6 separate regions of the Homo sapiens genome follow, and regions 2, 3, 4, 5 and 6 are each linked to region 1. The links are contacts of gene promoters, found by promoter capture Hi-C in blood cells and fetal thymus (Javierre and others, 2016). All regions are on one chromosome and are shown on one strand. The core of a region is centred on a gene start or on the middle of the fragment in contact, and the rest is flanking DNA. Distances in the headings are between cores, read along the strand shown. Region 1 holds the start of TPST1 (tyrosylprotein sulfotransferase 1). Region 2 has its middle 48 kb from the start of KCTD7. Region 3 has its middle 27 kb from the start of LINC03011. Region 4 has its middle 27 kb from the start of LINC03011. Region 5 overlaps LINC03006 (long intergenic non-protein coding RNA 3006). Region 6 overlaps KCTD7 (potassium channel tetramerization domain containing 7).

The links. Contacts are between HindIII fragments. The CHiCAGO score rates a contact against its expected background, and 5 or more counts as called.
Region 2: a contact is called between a fragment that was not itself captured here and the fragment with the promoter of TPST1 in region 1, in 3 of 17 cell types (endothelial precursors, M1 macrophages and M0 macrophages). The highest score is 6.3, in endothelial precursors.
Region 3: a contact is called between a fragment that was not itself captured here and the fragment with the promoter of TPST1 in region 1, in 4 of 17 cell types (M1 macrophages, M0 macrophages, M2 macrophages and 1 more). The highest score is 7.6, in M1 macrophages.
Region 4: a contact is called between a fragment that was not itself captured here and the fragment with the promoter of TPST1 in region 1, in 3 of 17 cell types (M0 macrophages, M1 macrophages and megakaryocytes). The highest score is 8.4, in M0 macrophages.
Region 5: a contact is called between a fragment that was not itself captured here and the fragment with the promoter of TPST1 in region 1, in 2 of 17 cell types (total CD8 T cells and erythroblasts). The highest score is 6.0, in total CD8 T cells.
Region 6: a fragment that was not itself captured here is called in contact with the fragment with the promoter of TPST1 in region 1 in 2 of 17 cell types (M1 macrophages and endothelial precursors); the score reaches 6.6 in M1 macrophages.

The regions. Positions count from the first base shown.
Region 1 is chr7:66,202,532-66,206,797 of GRCh38, reverse strand. It overlaps TPST1 (tyrosylprotein sulfotransferase 1), which reads right to left and starts at 1,464. Exons shown (of 6, transcript NM_003596.4): 1 at 1,276-1,464. RefSeq lists silencers at 1,062-1,421, 1,572-1,841. The HindIII fragment of the contact is 8,515 bases long and covers 1-4,266 here.
Region 2 is chr7:66,674,933-66,678,681 of GRCh38, reverse strand. It overlaps a transcript of RABGEF1 not described here. Among named protein-coding and RNA genes, the nearest start is that of KCTD7, 48 kb to the right of the region's middle. The HindIII fragment of the contact is 1,508 bases long and covers 1,671-3,178 here.
Region 3 is chr7:66,464,345-66,468,303 of GRCh38, reverse strand. No RefSeq gene overlaps it. Among named protein-coding and RNA genes, the nearest start is that of LINC03011, 27 kb to the left of the region's middle. RefSeq lists a silencer at 2,691-2,891. The HindIII fragment of the contact is 1,322 bases long and covers 1,160-2,481 here.
Region 4 is chr7:66,518,767-66,523,042 of GRCh38, reverse strand. It overlaps the pseudogene LOC100420547. Among named protein-coding and RNA genes, the nearest start is that of LINC03011, 27 kb to the right of the region's middle. The HindIII fragment of the contact is 5,661 bases long and covers 1-4,276 here.
Region 5 is chr7:65,736,081-65,739,898 of GRCh38, reverse strand. The region is part of intron 2 of LINC03006 (long intergenic non-protein coding RNA 3006); the gene reads left to right. Among named protein-coding and RNA genes, the nearest start is that of SNORA22, 18 kb to the left of the region's middle. The HindIII fragment of the contact is 3,989 bases long and covers 81-3,818 here.
Region 6 is chr7:66,639,610-66,643,679 of GRCh38, reverse strand. It overlaps KCTD7 (potassium channel tetramerization domain containing 7), which reads right to left. Exons shown (of 4, transcript NM_153033.5): 4 at 633-4,070. Among named protein-coding and RNA genes, the nearest start is that of KCTD7, 13 kb to the right of the region's middle. The HindIII fragment of the contact is 709 bases long and covers 1,040-1,748 here.

The DNA of each region.
Region 1 (4,266 bases), core at 215-2,714:
TTCATTGCAGCTCCCTGGACTATCCAGCTAATAGATAAACACGTACCACATTGCTTATATACTATGCCACTTTAGCTGGGAGGTAGGGGCTCTTTCTTTCCTAAAAAGAAAGTTACCCAAACACTGCAGATGGGGATGGAGAGGGGATGGGGAGTAATTACACCGCAAAGCCTGCTGACTAGCAGCCTAAGAATCCTTTACAAAGGCAATTAACATAAAACAATACATGGCACGGATAGCAGAATTGTTTCTTCTTAATGAATGCAGTAATTGACCATTTAATCGCTTTACTGGAGTTCACCAATTTCTCCTGCCATCTCCCATACCATTCTTCAGGCAGAGTCAAATCCCTGTGGACACTGGACTTCTTGCTACCATCATCTGGAAAGTACAAAACGCCTGGAAGGAGGAAGAGGCTAACATGCGTGACCACCCACCATGTGCCAGGCCTACTGTGTGCTAGACTCTGGGCAAGGGACTTTACATGTTATGGGGTGCAGCTCATGTAAGGACGAATGAAGATATTACACTATGGATCTGAGCCAGGCGCAGTGGCTCACGCCTGTAATCCCAGCACTTTGGAGGCCGAGGCAGAAGGATAGCTTGAGGTCAGGAGTTCGAAGCCAGCCTGGGCAACATAGAGACTCCATCTCTCAAAAAAAAAAAAAAAAAAAGCGATGAATCCGGCATTGCAGAGAGTGGGAAAGTGTCTGGAGGTTTAAGAGTAAGAGAAGGAAGAGGAGATTGCGATGGTGGGTGGTCAAAGTGAGGGGAGAAGAGGCGAGTTGGGAAAGGAAGGTGCTTAGGAGCAAAAGGGCAAGACCCAGGGACACCTGGAGCGGGGCGGGCGACTGCCATGCAGACAGGACTACGTACAACGGGTAGGATGATGGGGCGATGAGCTCAAGAAGCGCAGCCGGGGTAGACGTGGGGGCAAATGTCCGATCCCGGCGAGACGAGGGTCTCATCCCAGGGGACTGCGGGGCTAGGACGTGGTCCCAGGGCTGCGAGAAGGGAGAGAAAGGGCAGAGGGGAGAGGCCCCGGCGGCCGGGGCGAAGCCGAGCCCGGGAAATGCCGGCGATGGGGGAAGGGGCGTGGGAGCAGGGGCCGGACGGGCCAGACCCGGGGCTCCGCGCTCGGGGGCGGGGTTGGACAACCGGGAGGCACCGAGCAGAAGGCGACAAGGGGCCAAGGGATGCCAGGACGGGGCACAGGGCCGGGTGTGAGGAGACGAGAGGGGAGCGGAGCCGCAGCGAGCGCCGCGTCCCCCTTACCTGGGATGAGTGAGGAGCCGCCGCGCCGCCTGGACGGCATCCTGGCCTCAGCCGCTGGTCCCACCGCCTTCGGTGGGGGGCCACTCGGGAGCCCGCCCTCACCGCCAAGCGCCGGCAGCTGCCAGCCTGGACCGGCCCCGCAGAGCAGCGCCGTTCCGACCCGCAACCGAAGCCGCCTCAGCAGCGTCTCCCGCGGTCGCCAACTCAGCGACAACCGCCAGGGTCCGGGGAGGTGGCGGGATCACACATCTGCTACGATTGGCTGAGCGGACGATGTGTCGGCTGCTCTGATTCGTGAGTTCCGGCCGGCTGCCCACCGAAGGAGGCGCGGCTGGGAATGGAGCTGGGTCCGGCAGGCGCCGAGGGGCGGGGGTCTGACGTCGCAGCCGGCCAGCGCCCCCACAGCCCTTCCCGTGCGCGCTCCCGAGGGGGCTTCCCGGCAGCCGCAGGCCTGGCCGGGTGGTTGCCCTAGCAACAGCGCGCGTGGCCTGGCTGCAGGGGAGCCGCGGGCAGGTGGCGGTCCTCACCGCCCCCACCCCCAACGTGGGTGTCCCAGAGGCCTTCATCAGTGAAACCCTAGGACAGGAGAAGAAAATGAGCTTTTCCTGATAATTCCTCTCCTCTGCTTCAGAGCCCACCTTTGCCCGCTGCTGGCAGAGAAGCTGTCATCTCCTCGGGGAGATAACGCGCAAATGCAAATAACGAACTCAAACACTATTTCATCCCCACGAGAGTGTAGACGTGCAATAGTCCCTCCCAACCACAGAGGTGGGGGGCTGACGCCCTAAAAGAAAGAAATGAAAACTAGGGAGAAAAAGGCAAAGAAGCAAAAGAAAGGTGGGGAAAGGGCAGATATTTCACAAAATGATCCATTCATTTTACAGTTTCTTCCTACAGACACATCTACACCAGGTTCTGTCAAAGCAATTATTTCTACTCCAGTGACATGGATTAGAGAAGGCATGAGTGCAGAATCTAACAGCTGTATTCAAAATTGCTCTCTGCTAGGCCAGGTGGGGTGGCTCATGCCTCTAATCACAGCACTTTGGGAAGCCAAAGCTGGTGAATCACCTGAGGTCAGGAGTTCGAGACCAGCCTGGCCAACATAGTGAAACCCCGTCCCTGCTAAAAATACAAAAATTAGCCGGGCATGGTGGCGGACGCCTGTCGTCCCAGCTACTGGGGAGGCTGTGGCAGGAGAATTGCTTGAACCCGGGAAGGTAACTACCTTCCTTTGCACACAGTATAATATTTTCAAAGTTCATCCATGTTGTAGCATGTATCGGCACTTCATTCCTTGTTACGGCCGAATAATAGTCCATTATACAGACATCACCTTTTTTTTTTTTGAAGAGTCTCACTCTGTCTCCCAGGCTGGAGTGGAGTTATGTGATCTTGGCTCACTGCAACCTCCACCTCCTGGGCTCAAGTGATTCTCATGCCTCCGCCTCCAAAGTAGCTAGAATTACATGCATGTGCCACCATGCCTGGCTAATTTTTATATTTTTAGTAGAGACGGGGTTTCATCAAGTTGCCCAGGCTGATCTTGAACTCCTGGCCTCAAGTGATCTGCCTGCCTTGGCCTCCCAAAGTGCTGGGATTACAGGCATGGGCCACCGTGCCTGGCTGGACATCATCTTTTATTTATCCATTAATCCATTGATGGACATCTGTTTCTACTTTTTTGGCTATTATACATGATGCTGCTATGAACATTTGTGTAGAAGTTTTTGTGTGTGGCCGGGTGCAGTGGCTCACGCCTGTAATCCCAGCAGTTTGAGAGGCCGAGGTGGGCGGATCACAAGGTCAGGAGATCGAGACCATCCTGGTTAACACGGTGAAACCCCGTCTCTACTAAAAATACAAAAATTTAGCCAGGCATGGTGGCTGGCGCCTGTAGTCCCAGCTACTCGGGAGGCAGAGGCAGGAGAATGGCGTGAACCCGGGAGGTGGAGGTTGCAGTGAGCCAAGATTGTGCCACTGCACTCCAGCCTGGGCAACAGAGTGAGACTCCGTCTCAAAAAAAAAAAAAAAAAGAAGTTTTTGTGTGGACCTCATTTGATCTTTACAGCAACTGTCTAAGGTACATATGATATCTCCTTCTACAGATAATCAGCTGACTGGGTGTGGTGGCTCACGCCTGTAATCCCAGCAGTTTGGGAAACCCAGGCAGGAGGGTCCCGTGAGCCCAGGAGTTCTAGGCTGCAGTGAGCCATGATGGCACCACTGCACTCCAGCCTGGGTGACAGACTGAGACCTTGCCTCTCACCCAAAAAAAAAAATAATAATTATATATATGTGTGTGTGTGTGTGTGTTTGTGTGTATATGTGTGTGTGTGTATATATGTGTGTGGGTGTATACACACACACACACAGAGATAGATAAGAAAACTGACTATAAGATGGTAGACAGCAATTTTGTTGTTTGTTTGTTTTTGTTTTGAGATGGAGTTTCGCTCTTGTTGCCCAGGCTGGAGTGCAATGGTATGTATGACCTTGGCTCACTACAACCTCCGCCTCCCGAGTTCAAGTGATTCTTCAGCCTCAGCCTCCCCAGTAGCTGGGATTACAGGCGCCTGCCACCATGCCCAGCTAATTTTTTTGTAGTTTTATTAGAGACAGGGTTTTGCCATGTTGGCCGGGCTGGTCTCAAACTCCTGACCTCAGATGATCTGCCCGGCTCCACCTTCCAAAGTGACGGGATTACAGGTGTGAGCCACCGCGCCCACCTTTTGTTTTGTTTTTAGAGACAGGGTCTCACTATGTTGCCCAAGCTAGTCTCGAACTTCTGACCTCAAGCGATCCTCTAACCAGTCTTTTAATGTTAAGCAAGGGCCAAGTTACATTCTGCTTTCTACATTTCAGACCTCTTCAGGAAAAGGACTCACCATGGCCTCAGTAATACGGAAGCCACCACCGGTGCACAGCCCCTGCCAGGCTCTTTCCACAAAGTAGAGATGGAGATCTGAGATAACCTCCCACACTGCCCAG
Region 2 (3,749 bases), core at 1,175-3,674, 470 kb before region 1:
TAAAAATAAAATAAATAAAATGTCTGAGTTTCCACATTGCCACATTGTCTTGTCTCTTCATCCCTCTCCCTCCCTGGGTCCACTGGATTACCTTTTCTTTTTTTTTTTTTTTTTTTTGAGACGGACTCTCACTCTGTCACCCAGGCTAGAGTGCAGTGGCGCCATCTCGGCTCACTGCAAGCTCCGCTTCCTGGGTTCTCGCCATTCTCCTGCCTCAGCCTCCAGAGTAGCTGGGACTACAGGCGCCTGCCACCACGCCCGGCTAATTTTTTGTATTTTTAGTAGAAACAGGGTTTCACCGTGTTAGCCAGGATGGTCTCAATCTCCTGACCTCGTGATCCGCCCACCTCGGCCTCCCAAAGTGCTGGAATTACAGGCGTGAGCCACCGCGCCCGGCCTACTGGATTACCTTTTCTCTTCTCCCCAAATATTTTGGTCTAAAAATACCAGCAGGATGGGAGGGGCAGGGGAAAGAGAATTGCCTTGAGGAAGAAGGCATCTCATGGGTAGATGGAGAATGCAAGGGCCATACCTTTTTCTGTGGGCTATTAGATGTTGAGACTAAATTTTATGAACTTGCTTAGTAGCATGGATTTTCCTTTGTAGGTTTCTTTTTTTTTTCGAGACAGGGTCTTTGTCACCCAGACTGGAGTGCAGTGTCACAATCTTGGCTCACTACAGCTTCAACCTCCCAGGTTCAAGAGATGTCTTGCCTCAGCCCCCCAAGTAGCTGGGACTACAGGTGCACGCCACCACGCCTGGCTAATTTTTGTATTTTTCATAGAGACAAGGTTTTGCCATGTTGCCAGGCTGGTCTCAAACTCCTGGACTCAAACAATCCACCAGCTTCAGCCTCCCAAAGTGCTTGAGCCACCAAACCCGGCATTCCTTTGTAGATTTCTTTTTTTTTTTTTTTTTTTGAGACGGAGTCTTGCTTTGTCACCCAGGCTGGAGTGCAGTGGCGTGATCTCAGCTCACTGCATTCTCCCCCTCCCGGGTTCACGCCATTCTCCTGCCTCAGCCTCCCGAGTAGCTGGGACTACAGGCACCCGCCACCAAGCCCAGCTAATTTTTTGTATTTTTAGTAGAGACAGGGTTTCACCATGTTAGCCAGGATGGTCTCGATCTCCTGACCTTGTGATCCGCCCGCCTCGGCCTCCCAAAGTGCTGGGATTACAGGCTTGAGCCACCATGCCCAGCCTGTAGATTTCTATAAACAGAGAAAAGTACCATCAGGTTGGTACTTGTCTTGTTTCTGATTTCTTATTTTTTATAGAGATAGGGGTCTCACTTTGTTGTCTAAGCTGGTCTCAAACTTATGGCCTCAAGTTATCCTCCTACCTTTGTTTCCGGCCTTAGTGGAAAAGCTTCTAGTTTTTCACCATTGAGTATGATGTTAACTGTAGATTTTTCAGGCGTGGCCTTTATCATGTTGAGGAAGTTACATGCTATTCCTAGTTTGTTAGATTTCTTTTTATCACAAGAGTATTAAATTTTTAAATTAGATTTGTATTGTGGTAAAATGTACATGACATAAAATTTAATGTAAAAGAATGAAGTTAGATCCTTACCTATCACCATCTACAAAACTTAATTCAAAAATAAATCAAAAACCTAAATGTAAGCATGAAAAATACAAAACTCTTAGAAGAAAACCTGGAGGTAAAGCTTCATGACTTTGGATTTGGCAATGATTTCTTGGCTATGAAACCAAACGGACAGGCAATAAAAGAAAATAGACAAGTTGGACTTCATCAGTAGTTTTTTAACTTTTGTGCATCAAGGGACACTATTCACGGACCAGGTGTGATGGCTTATGCCGCTAATCCCAGCACTTTGACAGGCGGAGGTGGGAGCTAGGCTTGAAGCCAGGAGTTTGAAACCAGCCTGGGCAACATAGTGAGAACCCCCTCCATGCAAACAATTTTTTAAAAACTTAGCTGGGCATGGTGGAGCTTGCCAGCTACTTGGGAGGCTGAGGTGGCAGAATCGCTTGAGCCCAGCAGTTCCAGGTTGCAGTGAGCTAGGATTACACCACTGCACTCCAGCCTGGGCGACAGAATGAGACCCTGTCTCAGAATAAAAAGGCAATCCCCAGAATGGGGGAGAGAGAATACAGTTCACCCTTGAACAACACAGGTCCGAACTGCGTAGGTCCACTCATACATGGATTTATTTAACCAAATACGGATTGAAAATACATTATTTGCCCAATGTGAAACCCACATATGTGGAGGGCTAACTTTTTATAAGCAGGGGTTCTGCAGGGCTGACTGCAGGACTTGAATATGCTTGAGTATGTGAGGATTTTGGTATATGTGGGCATCCTGGAACAAATCCTCTGTGTATACCGACAGATGATTCTATTTGCAAATCAAGTATATATATATATATTTTTTGAAACGAAGTCTCGCTCTGTCACCCAGGCTGGAGTGATGTGGCACAATCTTGGCTCACTGCAACCTCTGCCTCCTGGGTTCAAGCAATTCACGGGCCACCACTCCTGGCTAATTTTTGTATTTTTAGTGGAGATGAGGTTTTGCCATGTTGGCCAGGCTGGTCTCAAACTCGTGACCTCAATGATCTGTCTGCCACGGCCTCCCAAAGTGCTGGGATTAGAGGCTTGAGCCACCATGCCTGGCCTGAAAATCACATATTTGATAAGGGATTGTTATCCAGGATATATCGAGAGCTCTTAAAACTTAACTAATTAACAACCCAAGTTACATGACATGTCTTTCCATTTATTTGTCTTCTTTGATTACTTTCAGCAATGGTTTGCAGTTTTCAGTGTAGAAGTCTTTGACCTCCTTGGTTAAATTTACCCTAAAGTATTTTATACTTTTTCATGCTGTCATACATGAAATGTTCTTAATTTCCCTTTTGGGATGTTCACTGTTTGTGTGCAAAAATGCAACTAATTTTTGTGTGTGTTGATTTTGCATCCTATTACATTGCTGAATTTATTAGTTCTAACAGTTTTCGTCTATGCTGGATCCTTACGGTTTTCTACACATAAGACCACATCGTTCATGAAAAATTTTATTTCTTCCTTTCCGATCTGAATCTTTTAAATTTGTCTTGCTGAATTGTCCTGACTAGAACTTCCAATGCTATGTTGAATAAAATTGGCACAAATTGGTATCCTTGTCTTGTTCATGATTTTAATGGAAAAGCTTCCAGTCTTTCACCACTGAGTATATTAGCTGTGGGGAGTTTTTTGGGGTTTTTTTTGTTTGTTTCTTTTTTTTGAGACAAAGTCTCACTCCTGTCCCCCAGGCTGGAGTGCGATGGTGTGATCTTGGCTCACTGCAACCTCCGCCTCCCAGGTTCAAGCGATTCTCCTGCCTCGGCCCCCCGAATAGCTGGGATGACAGGCTCCTGCCACCACGCCTGGCTAATTTTTGTATTTTTAGCAGAGACAGAGTTTCACCATCTTGGCCAGGCTGGTCTCGAAACCAGACTGCCAGCTGTGTTACACTGGGTAAATAAACTTAACCTCTCCATGCCTCAATTTCCCTGTCTGTAAAATTGGAGAAAATAATAAAACCTCATAATGTATTAGGGAATTAAGTGATTAGAAAATCGCTGGCACAGAGTAGGGCTTCAATAAGTGTTATTAGTTGTTATCAGTAGGCAACTATAATTACTATTATTAGGTATAATATTAGGTATATGTAAGTGTAATGGAAAAATATGACATCTAGCCCTTTATATATATATATATATAGTTTTATAATTGAGGTGAA
Region 3 (3,959 bases), core at 571-3,070, 260 kb before region 1:
ACTATTGAAAATTTCCCCTTCCCCTCCTTCTTCTAACATTAAATTACCTTATATTAGATTAGATTAGATTAGATTCATTTTTGAGTCAGTCTGTCCTGTAGTGGTTTGACAGGTCTGTTCTTGAGTTCACAGTCTTCTAACTAGTTTGCAAATAAAAATTCAGAAAATTAATTTAGAAAATCAAAAAATAATTTAGTGTTTATTTTTGCTGACAGAATCATTTTGTTGAGTTCCAGAAAGTCTTGTGGGATTTTTATTGCCATTTGTAGTAAACTTACACATTTTGGAATGTTTGACATGGTTATAAGATTTTATTTTCGCACATTGCGTTAAGTATATCTCAGTGTTTCCATGTGGATTATAATTTTCTCATTAAAATATTTTCTATAAGTCTTTACATATTCATGCTATTTTGACTGATATCTCTTTTTATACTTTCTAACTTGTTATTGTTTGTCTGTTACAAGAGTTCCACAGATTTCGTGTACCTATTTAGCTTATTTCACATAAATATGAATTCTTTTATGAAAGTTAGCCATTTTAAAGTTAATTTCTCAGCAGTAACAGTGTTTTATTTTCTTTAGGCCTTCCAGATATACAGTCATATTTCTTATATTACACGGTAAGCTCCACAAGGACTGAAATGATTTATTTTTACTTATATTTGTGTCCTAAGTGCCTGTCATTCAGTAATCAATCAGTATATAAATATTTGTTGAATGAGTGCAAGGGAACACTATAAGAATATGTACCATATACAGTGACTCTATGACTAAAACTTTTTTTTCTACTTGTCTATATATATCAGGTTTTGTAAATAATGAGTATTCTTTGCTTCAACTAGAAAAAAAAAACAAATTTAAGGGAAAAAAATCACCTGTAAGTTTTATTTCTTAATTGAGGTCAATGGATAGCTTATCATTTTGCTGGAATTGATTGGATGTTTCCTGTAAGTCCCAGATGAGTTGTCTGGAGATAGGAATGACCTCTGAGGGCATGACATTGAACCCAAGAATAGGAAGCAGGGCCCGCTCAAGGATAGAGGGAAACTACTCACATCTGTAAAGTGTTTTGGTTTTGCTTTTCTGAGATGAAACTGGTTTGCATCCAGAGTCTTAAGAAAGAACACTAATAGTTCTGTGAGCTTTGTAAGTAAGCTTTGTACCTCTCTGGTCTTTGTAGGTACCTGGACCTAGAATAAATCCTAGCCCTGGGGCACAATTTATAGAATCCTAACTGTCCCAGCAGCAGAGATCATTTTTACTCTGTCTTCCCTGACATAAGTGGGACCAATTGAATCGTGCATTCTTTATGCCCAGGTTGCTCAATCAAGCTCCTATTTATTGGAGTGCAGTGCTCAAACAGGAGTGGCATGTGGCCCCTTGGAGCTCCCTCCTGGAAGCAGTGCTGGTGGTGGTTACCTGTCTAGGGACAGGTCTGTCTGCCCAGGAAAGAGTTGAGTCTCATGCAGTCGATCCCCCATGTTTCTTCCTGTGTTTACAGGATATGCTGTCTGTAGCTCTGATGTCCAATCTGGGTGTGCCGACTCTCCTGCCTTCTACCATAACAGCTGTCGGCACCACCACATAGCCTTTCAAATGATGGCACTCTCTTTTGGTGGTACCCTTGCTCTCTTTTTATACTTAGAAGCAGCAGAATGATCTGAGTGTTGTGTTTAACTGATACACATTAGTCCCATGATAGGTGTTTATTTTTATTAAAAAACATTCATGTGTGATTTTTAACAAAACTTTAGAATTTGGAATAATTAATAACGTCAAATCCATAGGAAGCTGTAAGGATAATACAGACAGGTCCTGTGTACTCTTCTGGTTTGCTTAATGGTTACATCTTACATAACTATAATATAATGTCGAAACTAGGAATTTGATATTTGTGCAATGTATGTGTATAGTGTCATGCACATTTTATCTCATACATAGATTCCTGTAGCCACCACCATAGTCAAGATACAGAACTATTCCATTACCCGAAAGACCTCCCTTATGCCCTTTTAGTCACATCCTATGTCAGCAGTCCCCAGGGCTGCCCCCAGGTTTCGTAATTCGCTCAAGGCTCTCACAGGACATTCTTTGCTATGGTTTGTTACAGTGAGGGGATACAAAGCAGGATTAATAAAGGGTAGTTGTGCATTGAGAAGATTCTATAGGACACGAGCATTGTGAAGATTCGGAGTCTTCTCTCCGTAGAGTTGCCCAGTTTGTGCTTACTTCCCCAGCCATAAACTCTAGCAACACATGTGAAGTGTTTTCTATTGTGAAAGCTCACATGAGCCTCAGAATCCAGGGCTTTTATTGGAGATGGGTCACATAGTGTATTAGTTTGTTCATTCTCACATAGCTATAAAGAAATACCTGAGACTGAGTAATTTATAAAGAAAGGAGGTTTAATTAGCTCACAGTTCTACAGGCTGTACAGGAAGCATTGCAGCTTCTGCTTCTAGGGAGGCGTCAGGAAGCTTCCAATCATAGTGGAAAGCAAAGGGGGAGCAAAGTGTCTCCCCTGGTGGGAGCAGGAGCAAGAGAGAAGGTGCTACACACGTTTAAACAACCAGATCTCACAAGCACAGAACCACAGGGGATGGTGTGAAACCATTCATGAGTAACTGCCCCATGATCAGATCACCTCTCACAGGCCCCACTTCCAACATTGGGGATTTCGATTCACCATGACATTTGGGTGGGTACACAGATTCAGACCATATCACATAGGCATGTAGTTCCTTTGCGACTGATCACTATTACAGCAACTCCAGAAGGAAAGCAGGTGTTTACCATAAATCATACAGTTCACATAAAATATCTAGAGAAGCTGGTACAGTGTGGTTCAGTACCGTAAGCATACAAAACACCCTTATCATTTAGGGCATAGGGCTAGTACAAGACCTCAGTTTCTAGGCGCTGACCAAGGGCCAGTCTCAGAAGCAGGCTCGTCTGAGAATGTGCATCATTTGAGCAACTCAGCTTGCTGAGTTAACTGCTTATACTATTTTCCTTCCCCTCCTCTCCCTTGCCTTCACCACTGTTAACCTGGAAAAAGCACTAATTTGTCCTCCATATCTGTAGTTTTGTCATTTGGAAAGGTAGTATAAATCCTAGAGTATGTGACCTTTTAAGATGGACTTTTTAAAAAACTCAGCATCTTGCTCTTGAGCATCCAGGCTTTTGCATGTGTTAACAGTTTGTTCTTTTTAGTGTTCGGTATTCTCTTGTGTGGTCATGCCCCAGTTTGTTTAACCATCCCATAGATGTTTATTTTCCCTTGTAAAGTTGATGAGCATGTATAATTTTTTTTCTTTTTTGAGATGGGGTCTTGCTTTGTTGCACAGGCTGGAGTGCAGTGGCATGACCTCGACTCACCACAGCCTTCACCTACCGGGTTCAAGTGATTCTCCTGCCTCAGCCTCCCTAGTAACTGGGACTACAGGCACGCACCACCATGCCCAGCTAATTTTTGTATTTTTAGTAGAGATGGGGTTTCACTGTGTTGGCCAGGCTGGTATCCAACTCTTGCCCTCGTGATCTGCCCGCCTCAGCCTTCCAAAGTGCTGGGATCAGAGGCGTGAGCCACCGTGGCCGGCCAGCATGTATAATTTTAACGTAATTGCTAATCACTCATGAGGGGAAGAGATTTTTAAACATTTTTAAATAATAGAGACAGGGTCTTGCTATGTTGCCCAGGCTGGTCTTGAACGCTTGGCTCCAAGCCATCCTCCCACCTTCGCCTCCCAAAGTGCTGGGATTATAGGCGTGAACCATTGCACCTGACCCTGGGGGAAGGGACTTTTGTATTTATTAAGCATTTAGTATGTATCATTGCTCTATAGCCATGTTATTCTATAGTCTCTACAGTAACCTTATTCATTCAGTTATTCTTTCAACAAAGATTTGAGAACGTATGATATGCTTGGTTGTGTAGGGAAAAACAATTCTCAAACT
Region 4 (4,276 bases), core at 1,165-3,664, 320 kb before region 1:
CCCACAGCAGGCTTAGCTCCAGCCCCCAGCACCATGACCTGGCCCTATTCCCAGTGACCCCTCCACAGCCAGTGCCTCTTACCAGGCTTTCGGATGAGTCCTTGGAAAGGCCTAGAAGAGAAACAGAGGCAGGGGTGTCAGGGGGAAGGGCCTGGGGATGAGGAAGACACCCCTGGGATGCAGTGGCCTCAGTCTCCCCTGGGAGCACCCCAGATCTACGGCAGCAGAATCTGCATTTTAATAAGCTGCCCTGGGGCTCTGTGTGCGTGGGACACTGACACCATGTGGCAGGGTGCTGGCATTGGCAGTGCCACTCTGCAGGATGCAGACCTGGGCCTTGGGTAGGCTCTGCCCTGGCTGGCCCCAAGACCTTGGGCAAATCCCTCTGATGGGGGCTAAAGGCATTTCCTGGGGGCTGGGGGTACAGTGAGCAGGTGTTGCTGAACAGGTTGAAGATGCCCTCGAAGGCTGCCCTTGCCATGGTGGGGTGACCAGTCCCACTTCTGAAGGACACCTTGCACTCAGGCTGGCCTGCAGTCCCTTTCTGGCCACCCCCAGGACCCAGGATGGTGCCAGGAGAGCCACCTTGTCCAGTGGGGAGGGCACGACCTAGGGAAAGGCTAAGGATTCGCAGGTGTAAGCCCCCATCTGAGCTAGTCCTGCCTCTTCACCCTCACCCTTCCCCCTGAGTACCTGGTGACTGTGAACGTGATCTTGTTGGCCATGGCAAGAATCCTCTCCAGGTTCTGGGAGCCGAAGGGCTTTCGGAACAGGATTCCTGGTGGCAGCTCCTCGATGATCATGGAGCCGGGGTTACTCTTGATCCACTTGTAGGGGACCTGAACCGGGTACTTGATGCCCAAGGCTTCCCCTGTGGGTGAGAGGCAGGGTCCTGCCCGTCAGGAGTGAGAGGCAGCGTGGGGTGTGTGTACATGGGATTGCGGGGGTGTGATGGAAAGACATGCGTGCAGGAGAGTGAATGGTACGAGAAAGCTCTTATGTAGCATTGTGGAAAGGTATAGGCATTACAATCTAAGCTATTTGATCAGAACATTAAAAAAAGGCCAGCATGGTGGCTCATGCCCGTAATCCCAGCATGTTGGGAGGCCAAGGCAGGAGGATCACTTAAGTCTAAGATTTCGAGATCAGCCTGGGCAACATAGCAAGATCCTGTCTCTACTACAGATTTCTAAAAAACAGCTGGACATGGTGATGCATGCCTGTAGTTCCAGCCACTTAGGAGGCTGAGGCAGGAGGATTGCTTGAGCCCAGGAGTTTGAGGCTGTAGTGAACCATGATCACGCCACTGTACTCCAGCATGTGTGACAGAGTGAGACCCTGTCTCAAAAAAAAAGAAAAGAAAGAAAAAGCCACACCAATATGCTCCCATGTCGTATGCTCCTTTTTTTTTTTTTTTTTTTTTTTTTGAGACAGATTTTCGCTTTTGTTGCCCAGGCTGGAGTGGAATGGCACGATCTCAGCTCACTGCAACCTCTGCCTGCCAGGCTCAAGCGATTCTCCTGCCTTAGCCTCCTGTGTAGCTGGGACCACAGGTGTGCACCACTGCACCTGGCTAATTTCTTTTTTGTATTTTCGGTAGAGATGGGGTTTCACCATGTTGCCCAGGCTGGCCTTGAACTCCTGAGCTCAAGCCTCCAAAAGTGCTGGGATTACAGGCATGAGCCACCGAGCCGGGCCCCTGTCTATTAAATTCTGTGTGTAGTTGTTGAAAGTGTGTCTCACCTCATTGGTCTGCAAGGCTCATGAGTACAGGGACTGTGTCTGTTTTATTCACAGCAATATCCCCAGTGCCTGAGACAGTGCCTGGCACATAGTAAATGCTCAAGAAATACATGTAAAGGGGTGAATCGTTTCCCCAGAAATCCCCTCGGCTGGAACTGGGAAACCTGCCACTTCTCTGTCCACAGCAGCTACATGTCCCTCCCCAGGGGTTCTGCGCTGCTTACCATATGTCTTATTGAAAAGCTCCTGGACCTGCTCCCTTAGCGTGTTGGCAATGTCAATCCGTAAGAGCCTCGCGTCGTAATTTTCTGCAAAGCGCAAAATGATTATGGGTTTGGGCTGTTCAGTGAAAAGGCACTTGGTGACTTTTAAGGAAGATGATTTTCTAATTATGGGGAACTCCTTCTCTGGCAATTAACGGATCTTTGGAGTGGGCCGCTCAGGTTCTTCAGCACCAACGTCTTGATGGAGATGTGTTTTTTCCAGAAGGACATGCACTGTTGCCACAACAGTGATGAGTTGGAAATTCAGTTAATTGTTGACATTTGAAAACCACCAAATCAATAAATAAGCCCGGAGAGGAGGGACACCATAGAGTGCAGAGTCCTGTGCCCTGGGCTGGCAGGCAGGGGGTATGGGCTTCATGAAGTCACTGGGGGGCTGGAGACAAAGGAGGGAACGGAAGCCCAGCTGATCCAGCAGATGGTGGAGGACGGGCAGTCCCCACAGACACAGGGGACACGCCTGGCAGCTCCCAATGCAACCTCCACCTCCCAGGCTCAAGCAATTCTCCTGCCTCAGCCTCCTGAGTAGCTGGGACCACAGCTGTGTGCCACCATGCCTGGCTAATTTCTTCTTTGTGTTTTTGGTAGAGATAGGGCTTCGCCATGTTGCCCAGGCTGGCTGTGAACCCTTGAGCTCAAATGATCCACCTGCCTCAGCTGGGATTACAAGTATGAGCCACCCAGCCACCCTCACCCAGAGAGTGTTCATTAAAAACCCCCAAGTGTGGCCAGGCGCGGCAGCTCATACCTGTAATGCCAGCACTTTGGGAGGCCGAGGCGGGAGGATCACCTGAAGGAAGGAGTTGGAGACCAGTCTGGCCAACATGGTGAAACCCCATCTCTACAACCCCGTGTCTACCAAAAAACTACAAAAATTAGTTGGGCATGGTGGTGTGTACCTGTAATCCCAGCTACTTGGGAGGCTGAGGCAAGAGAATCCCTTGAACCTGGGAGGTGGAGGTTGTAGTGAGCCGAGATCACACCACTGCATTCCAGCGTGGATGACAGAGCAAGACTCTGTCTCAGAAAAAACAACAACAACAACAACAACAACAAACAAAAAGCTGGGTGCAGTGGCTCATGCCTGTAATCCCAACACTTTGGGAGGCTGAGGCTGGCAGATCATCTGAGGTCGAGAGTTCGAGACCAGCCTGTCCAACATGGTGAAATCCCGTCTATACTAAAAAAAATACAAAAATTAGCCGGGTGTGGTGGCGTGCACCTGTAATCCCAGCTACTCAGGAGGCTGAGGCAGGAGAATCGCTTGAACCCAGGAGGCAGAGGTTGCAGTGGGCTGAGATTGCGCCATTGCATTCCAGCCTGGGCAACAAGAGTAAAACTCCATCTCAACAAACAAACAAACAAGACAAGTGCCCGCATGTGCCGGAGGGATCCTACACCACCATTTCTCTCTCCCCCCACTCTTTTTTTTTGAGACAGGGTGACAGGGTCTTGCTCTGTTGCCCATGCTGGAGTGCAGTGACACGATCCTGGCTCACTGCAAACTCCGCCTCCCAGGTTCAAGTGATTCTCCCACCTCAGCCTCCCAAGTAGCTGGGATCACAGGTGCATGCCACCTCGCCTGACTAATTCTTGTATTTTTTTGGTAGACACGGGGTTTCGCCATGTTGGCCAGGCTGGTCTTGAACTCCTGGCCTCAAGTGATCCACCCATCTCGGCCTCCCAAAGAGCTAGGATTACAGGTGTGAGCCACTGCACTCAGCCTCTGATTTCTTTTCTTAAAAATAGACCTAGAGATGGGTTCTATGTTGCCCAGGCTGGTCTCGAACTTCTGGCCTTGAGCAAGCCGCCTGCCTTGACCTCCCCAAGTGCTGGGATTACAGGCGTGAGGTGCCACGCCTGGCTCTTATTCTGATTTCAAAGCACTAAGACCACAGCTGATTGCTGAATAAGGAGTGGGCATGTCAGCTACCTTCCTGGAGGGGGGCAGGCAGGCTCCTGCGCCCTGTAGCCTCCCAACCCCCAATTTCCCCCACCGTCCACCTGTAGGCACCCCCTCTCCCCTGGAGTCTCTAACACAGAGCTTACAGGGTACAGCCGGGCCTGGGCTGCCAACCTGGCTTGCCTGGTCCCTTAGGCCCTGAAGTTGGGGGCCAGCTCCTCCCCACTTCCAGCCTGGCCCTCCAAACCCAAACCAGGTCAAGGTCCTGGTGCTGGGACAACAGACCTCCCCCTGAGCTCAACCTTACCTTGAAAGCCCTGTCTCTTCAGGCTCTCGCCCACCAGAG
Region 5 (3,818 bases), core at 826-3,325, 470 kb after region 1:
GTTGTATTTTCCTGGACCGATCATTTGCAAGGGTCTTCTCTGAAGGAAAGACAAGAGGGACCAGGGTAGTTTTACAAGCTTCTCAATGCAAACGAAGGTTTTCAGCTGCCACAGTCAGACTGTGTCATTCAATGTGGCTCTTGGTAGTTTTTGTGTAGTTCTGCCTCCTTTGCTGTGTACTATTTTTTGTTTTGTTTTATTTTTGTTATTTTTTCTTTGCACTGTTCTAAACTGGCCCTGTAGGGCTTCGCCTCCCAGTCCAGTACTCCCTAGCATCACCACCAATCACTGCACATAGGGCACACAGCCCCTGTGTTTCTGGTGAGCTCTTCATCTACCTTTTTTTTTTTTTTGAGACAGTCTCTCTGTTGCCCAGGCTGAAGTGCAGTGGCACGATCTCAGCTCACTGCAACCTCCACCTCCAGGGTTCAAGGGATTCTTGTGCCTCAGCCTCCCGAGTAGCTGGGATTACAGTCGTGAGCCAGCATGTCTAGCCTTTTTTGGTATTTTTTTGCAGAGATGGGGTTTTGCTATGCCACCCAGGCTGGTCTCAAATTCCTGGACTCAAGCAATCCACCTGCCTTGGCCTCCCAAAGTGCTGGGATTACAGGCGCGACTGGCTGTCTCTCTCTCTCTCTCTCTCTCTCTCTCTCTCTCTCTCTCTCTCAAGTGATAGAGTCTTAGGGCCAGGCACAGTGGCTCACGCCTGTAATACCAGCACTTTGGGAGGCCAAGATGGGCAGATGATGAAGTCAGGAGTTCAAGACCAGCCTGACCAGCATGATGAAACCCCGTCTCTACTACAAATACAAAAATTAGCTGGGCTTGGTGGTGTGCACCTGTAATCCCAGCTACTCAGGAGGCTGAGGCAGGAAAATTGCTTGAACCTGGGAGGCTGAGGTTGCAGTAAGCCGAGATCGTGCCACTGCGCTCCAGTCTGGGCCACAGAGTAAGACTCTATCTCAAAAAAAAAAAAAAAGATTCTTGTTATGATGACCAGGCTCGTCTCAAATTCCTAGGCTCAAGCAATCCTCTTGCCTTAGCCTCCCAAAGTGGTTGGATTATAGGCATGAGCTACCGTGCTGGCCAAAATAGAATGTTAGTGACACACCCTACATTGAATTTACTTGGAAGGCTGATTCTTTTCCCATGCCCTCCCTAGGAGAGTGAGCTGGGTGTTAGGACCTTAACTCTGCCCATAAGATGCTCAGGCCAGGAGAGATGCCCTTCACCCCTTGGATTACAAGGGTTTCAACTCCCTTTCTGCTTGTTTGAGCCTTGCCCTCAGTTCTTTTTATCCCTGCTCTGCTGTGCTTGTTTCAAACAACACATTTTTGGACTGTGGCATGAACGGCTCATCTTCAGAGAGTCTGTTTTAGTTGTGTTTCCTAGGATCTGCATCTGCCTCTTCGCGTGTAACTTTGGTAGCCCTTGTGCAGGTCTTGGAGTCTCCAGTGACTTTTTGTCTTCTAGTTTTGCTGAATATGGGATTTCTGCCTCATTCCCCCCCACTATGTCTCCCTATCACTTTGCATAATTTCTAGGAGGAGGAAGGGGAAGATTCGGTCAAATATTGCTGCAGTTCTTATACTATAATCATATTGCTTTGTAATATAAATTTCCCCCACTTTTTCCATTATAAAGATAGCTGTAGGCCAGATGTGGTGGCTCATGTCTATAATCCCAGCGCTTGAACCCGGAAGGTGGAGATTGCAGTGAGTTGAGATTGCACCACTGCACTCCAGCCTGGACGGCGACAGAGCCACGCACTGTCTCAAAAACATAAAAATAAATAAATAAATGAATGTTTCATCTTTTATATAGCTGTATAGACATAGATGTATAACCATATACCATACCTGGATATAGACACACGTAGAGATTTATTTGTTCAAAAATGGGGGCTCACATTATATATATGTTCTGCAACTTCCTTTATTCATGTGACATATCATGGGCATATTTCCATGGTGTGACTTATTTTGAATGCTAATGTTTATATTAAATCACATTTCAAACTGTGTTCTTTTAAGACATTCATGCTATTTTAATGTATTGGTATTATTTGTTTATTTATTTATTTTGAGATGGAATCTTTCTCCGTCACCAGGCTGGAGTGCAGTAGCGCGATCTCGGCTCACTGCAACCTCCACCTCCTGGGTTCAAGCGATTCCCCTGCCTCAGCCTCCCAAGTAGCTGGGACTACAGGTGTGGACCACCATGCCCAGCTACTTTTTTGTATTTTAGTAGAGATGGGGTTTCACCATGTTGGCCAGGATGGTCTCGATCTCCTGACATCGTGATCTGCCTGCCCCGGCCTCCCAAAGTGCTGGGATTACAGGTGTGAACCACCGTGCCCAGGCAGCAATGTATTGCTATTTAACATATTGATATGAAATATTAAATTTGTTAGCAAATATTTTATACACACAGATACAAAAAGCATCTGTACACCTACTATCCTACTTAAAGGAACATTATTACTATAATGCCATTGATTAACTCTACATACCTTTTCTCAATCTCATTTCCTTTCTTACTTTCAGAAGTAACTACTCTCCTGCAGTTTATGTTGTAAGTTATCATTTATGACATTAAATGATATTCTCTTTTTAAAGTTTCCAATGGCTATTGGAGTATCACAGTAATCACAGTAACTGAGAATGTTCACAGTATTGCTGTAAAAATTCTTATATATGTGGCTCCTCCAATCATACAACTTTCTTTTTTTTTTTTTTGAGACAGAGTTTCACTCTTGTTGCCCAGGCTGGAGTGCAATGGCGTGATCCCAGGTCACCGCAACCTCTGCCTCCCGGGTTCAAGCGATTCTCCTGCCTCAGCTTCCCCAGTAGCTGGGATTACAGGCATGCATCAATACGCCTGGCTAATTTTGTATTTTTAGTAGAGACGGGGTTTCTCCATGTTGGTCAGGCTGGTCTTGAACTCCCGGCCTCAGGTGATCCGCCTGCCTCAGCCTCCCAAAGTGCTGGGATTACATGCATGAGCCACTGCGTGCCTGGCCTCTTTTTTTTTTTTTTTTTTTTTTTTTAGACAGAGTCTCACTCTGCCACCCAGGCTGGAGTGCAGTGGCGTGATCTTAGTGCAGCCTTAACCTCCAGGCTCAAGCCATCCTCCCAACTCAGCCAAGTAGCTGGGACTTGAGGTGTGTGCCACCACGTCCCACTAATGTTGTTTATTTTTTGTAGCGATTAGGTCTCAATATGTTGCCCAGGGTGGTCTTGAAATCCTGGGCTCAAGCGATCCTCCCACCTAGGCCTCCCAAAGTGGTGGGATTAGAAGCATGATCCACCACACCCAGCCTACTCATGAAAGTTTCTCCTGAGTGTCTCCCTCAGGTGGAATTGCTGGGTTGTATAAATTGCGTGTGTTTAGTGTTACTAACACCATATTGTTTTCCGGAGTGTTCGTTCCAATTTACTATACTTTAGAAGGCCATTATCAGTGAATAACTTTTTAAAAAGGAGTACATGATTCTAACACAATTAGCCATTAGAAAATTTGTGGCTGGGCACGGTGGCTCACTCCTGTCATCCCAGCACTTTGGGAGACTGAGGTGAGCAGATCACCTGAGGCCAGGGGTTTGAGACCAGCCCGTCCTACCTGGTGAAACCCCCGTCTCTACTAAAAACACAAAAATTAGCTGGGCATGGTGGTGCCTGCCTGTAATCCCAGTTACTTGGGAGATTGAGGCAGGAGAATCACTTGAACCCAGGAGGCAGAGGTTGCAGTCAGCCGAGATCACGCCACTGCACTCCAGCCTGGGCAACACAGAGAGACTCCGTCTAAAAAAAAAAAAA
Region 6 (4,070 bases), core at 145-2,644, 440 kb before region 1:
CCAGAATAATCAGAGGTTTAAGGGAAGCAGTTGGAGGGTATGAAGCTACTCAGAGCCTCAGAACTCACCTTTCTGCGTTAATCCATGATGTGACTCCAGGGGGCATCTTGATGAGGACACTCATTAGCCAGGAAGGTGTCAAGCTCTGCTTTCAAAGGAAGGGCAACTTACGTCCATTTTTCTTAAGGAAGGGTCTTAACCACTGAGGCTTACATAAATTTAGAGCTACTTATTTCCCCCATTGAAAAGGAAGTGGTAATATGACAGGAGGAATTTATTTTAGAACTACCTGACATGGTTGTGAGCCACACACGTGACTGCACCTGCAGTCTCTTCTTTCCTTGGAGAACTCCCAAAAGAAGAGGACAGAGATTTTGCCTAGGCTGGGGTGGGCACATGCCTACATGAAACAGGGACAAGTCTAGAGTAACTCTAGAAGGGTCCTCAAGAGGCCCACCTCCCTTTCAGGGCAGAAATTCAGCTGCTGGTCTCAGGGAAAAGCCTGTCTTGTTGTGTGGGGCATCCCCAAACACACCACATTTTAAGCAGAAATAAAAAATATTTGCTGGCAAAGTGGGGGTCAGAGAAGAGATGAGAGCACATCTCTAAAAAAGAAAGGCACAGCACCCAGGTTCTAGTTCTTGACTTTAATGCCCTTGGAGTGTACTGAGGCTCAATACACCAAAGCACTCACAGACAGGTACATGAACTCACACAGGAAGTGTTATAGTGTGTACATAAACCCAACACCATACAGAAGGAAGACGACGGACCCAGGTGACCTCCCACACTCGAGGTGACTGCCTGTTCCCATACTCACTGTTTGTTCCCACCTCCCTCAACCCCTGCCAACCCCCATCCTTCCCCACTCAGTATGTATATACACAGATATGATTCTTTCAGAATTCCAAAAAGTGCCTCTCCCACCCCAGTTCCCAACACTACAGCTTTGGATGAAAAAAGCCTCTCTCTTTTAAGGATCATGAGACAGGTACCACCTTCACGCAAGAGCCCCAGCAAAATAGTACCCAAGAAAGCTTAATAATGTATATTGGAATCAAATATGGATAGAACATATGCAGAAGGACAATATTTGAAATATTACTAGGATCAAAACGCTCAGCATCAGTAGTTTTTGTTTTGTTATTGCTGTTTGCTTTAACCTGTTCAAGAGCTGGTTTAGACCAAGACCACACATGGATGCTCACACCGCCTGTGTCTTATAAATGTCACTTCCTATTCCTCCAGCAAGCAGCCCAGAACAGGAAGATTATATCACCTGATAAGCCTTAGGCACAAGGCTCAGACAGCTCCCAGAATATCCTAAGCCCCAGGAAAGAAGAACAGAAACTTCCAGAGTACAGCTGACTGCTTTCTGCATGGTAAGCACTGGGCAGCCTGGTGAACAAGGCAGAGGTAAAATAAGGAAGGTGATGATTCCTTCCATTTATTTAGAGTGTTACGCTAAGAATTCCTCTCCTGGAGTGGGATGCATTTCAGTGTGGTTTTGCTTCAGTCTTTTTTTGTTGCTATAACATTAGCTTTTTTATTTTTAAGGAATTTTGTTATGGCGAGCATTGCACCATTGGTCCCATCTCCTGAAACTTTCACTTTGCTTTGACTCACTGATAACTACTGGCCCGTCTCAAGGCAAGATGAATCCAGTCCCTTGTCAAGTGAGAGGGATTTACTGACATTATGCACAACAATTCTATAAAGATGCACTTCCTTATGATCAGGGAGAAGCTTTCATCCTTTGGAGCCTTCCTTCCAGACCCAACCCTTCTTCTGTTCTGGGCCTGGCCATTTAGAGTTGAAAAGGGATCAAATGGGGAAAAGTCACTTCCACAGGGATAACCCCTTTATCTGGAGGCCGTTACCACAATCCACCACATCTAATTGCACTTTTCAGCCTGGCCTTGGTTTCTCATTAGAGAATGGCGAAACTAGGCCACTGAATTCCTTCACTCCATTTAGAAAGAGCTCTCAGCTTGCTGCCCAGTGTCACCTCTCTGCCTGTTCTACTGGCCCAGAGCCTTGTGTCCTACAGTGGCACAGAATACATTACTGTGAGGATCACAAAGGGAGTCAGAGAAACAGGGATTTCTCCAGCGAGAGAGAGGAACGGTGTTCTTACCCAGCATCCCTGTAATCCTAAGCAAGCCTTCAGGACCTGTTTTTGAGCAAACTTGCATTTGAGCAAACAAGTCTCTCAATGGCTTGCATGTATGGACTCTAAATAACCAAGCCCTGCCATGCTCCATGGGAGAAGGGGGAAGCAGAAGGGGTCAAGGCCACATTACTGAAAGCAATGGGCTTAATGAACTGCTCTCTGTTCACACAGACTTTTTCAATAGTCTGCCTCTCTGTCAAAAAATGAACACATATTAGGCAGTAGGTAACACCAATCAGAAGAACCAAAATGAAAGCCTTTTCTCTTAGAACAATACAAGAGCCATGTTTTGGGGCTAACCTCCAAGCAGGGACATCAGCTCCAGAAAAGAGACTATCCCTTTGTGTACGAGAACAATAGAGAGAGCGCATATCTCAGAACGTGAATGACTATCCTTTCCTCTTAGATCTCAGTATCCACCTCTTTTCCACCTCTAAAAGAGTACAACAGGAGTGCAAAACCACGCCCTGGAATCTTTGTTTACACATAGGGAACAGGAGATCACTGCCGTCCAGCCCCACGGAGGAATTCAGCCAAAGTCCCAGGGCTTGGTCTTCTCTTCCTCATATGAACACAGACTTCAGCTCCCCTTATACCCATCTTGTCTATCTGGTCCTGTAAGTCTGATACCAGTGAGGCTGTCCTCCCCAATTTATTTATTTATTTATTTATTTTTACGATGGTGTTGCCCAGGCTGGAGCACAGTGGCTAGCCACAGGCACGATCATAGTATACTACAGTCTTAATCTCCTGGGCTCAAGTGATCCTCCTGCCTCAGCCTCCAGAGTAGCTGGTACTACAGGTGTGTGCTCGAGTGGCCTGGACTACAGGCGTGTGCCCAAGTAGCTGGGACTACAGACATGTTCCTGGCTCGCATCAATTCTTTACACATTAAAAAAAAAAATCTCCCTTTACCCAGGAAGAGACAGGTACAATCATGATTAGAGAGAGACACCCTTAATGCAGCATGGAAATGTTACATTGTGATCAATGGTGCTACACAGTTCTTCCTTTAGGAGATGCATGTCCAGACCCTGACTAGTTGGCCTAGGCTGTAGACAGAGCAAGAAGGAAATGCAGTAGTAACAGATCCTTGGGGATCTTTTTCAATTTCTGAAATAGAGGAGTAAGTAAACCAAAATATACAGGAGTGAGGAGTAAAACAAAATATAAAGAAGTGAGTAAAACAAAAATAGAGGAGTGAGGAGTAAAACAAAAGGGAAGTTTTGTCTTCCTACGGCTCCTAGGATAGCTGTGTGTCTCACCCAGCCCTTCCTTTACCTTCTCAGAAGAGAGGCTCTCCTAGAAGGAGAATGTTACCAGGACAGAGGAACAGGGTTTAAAGAGAGGGGGTCCCCTTCCAAAGAGGTTCACCACAAACTGGATTCTAACACATGAGATAGCAGCCAAGGAGGTGTTCTGAGCCTCTAAAAAGGATGTTACATGTCAAAGATAACAGAAGATCTAGGCATCTTGCCTGCTTGACTTGGGGAATCTTCAAAAGAAGCCTCTGAAATTTGCATTCCAGCCCTGTGAGAAGATAACCCTGCAAGCAAGGAAGGTGGTGGAAGATAAGAGAAGCCGCGGCCCTAAGACAGGGCTGTAAACATTGTGGTTTTCTAAGGCCAACTGGGTGCATAGCTTTGGCAGCTATGGTTAAATCTCCAAAAGGTGGTGAAGAACATGTTCCGGAAGGAAAAGAAAAGTCTTTCCACATTTTGGGAATGTGGGCAACTATTCTTGGAGGAGAAGGGGTGCAGTGGGAGAGAAGATGCTCTTTCTTCTTCAGCCAGGGGCTATGGGGTGGCTGGTCAGGTAAATCCCCCATCATGTTCCGTGTTCACACCAATATACTGAGCACAAGGGAGGGACGCTTGAACAGGGTTGAGGAAGTGAT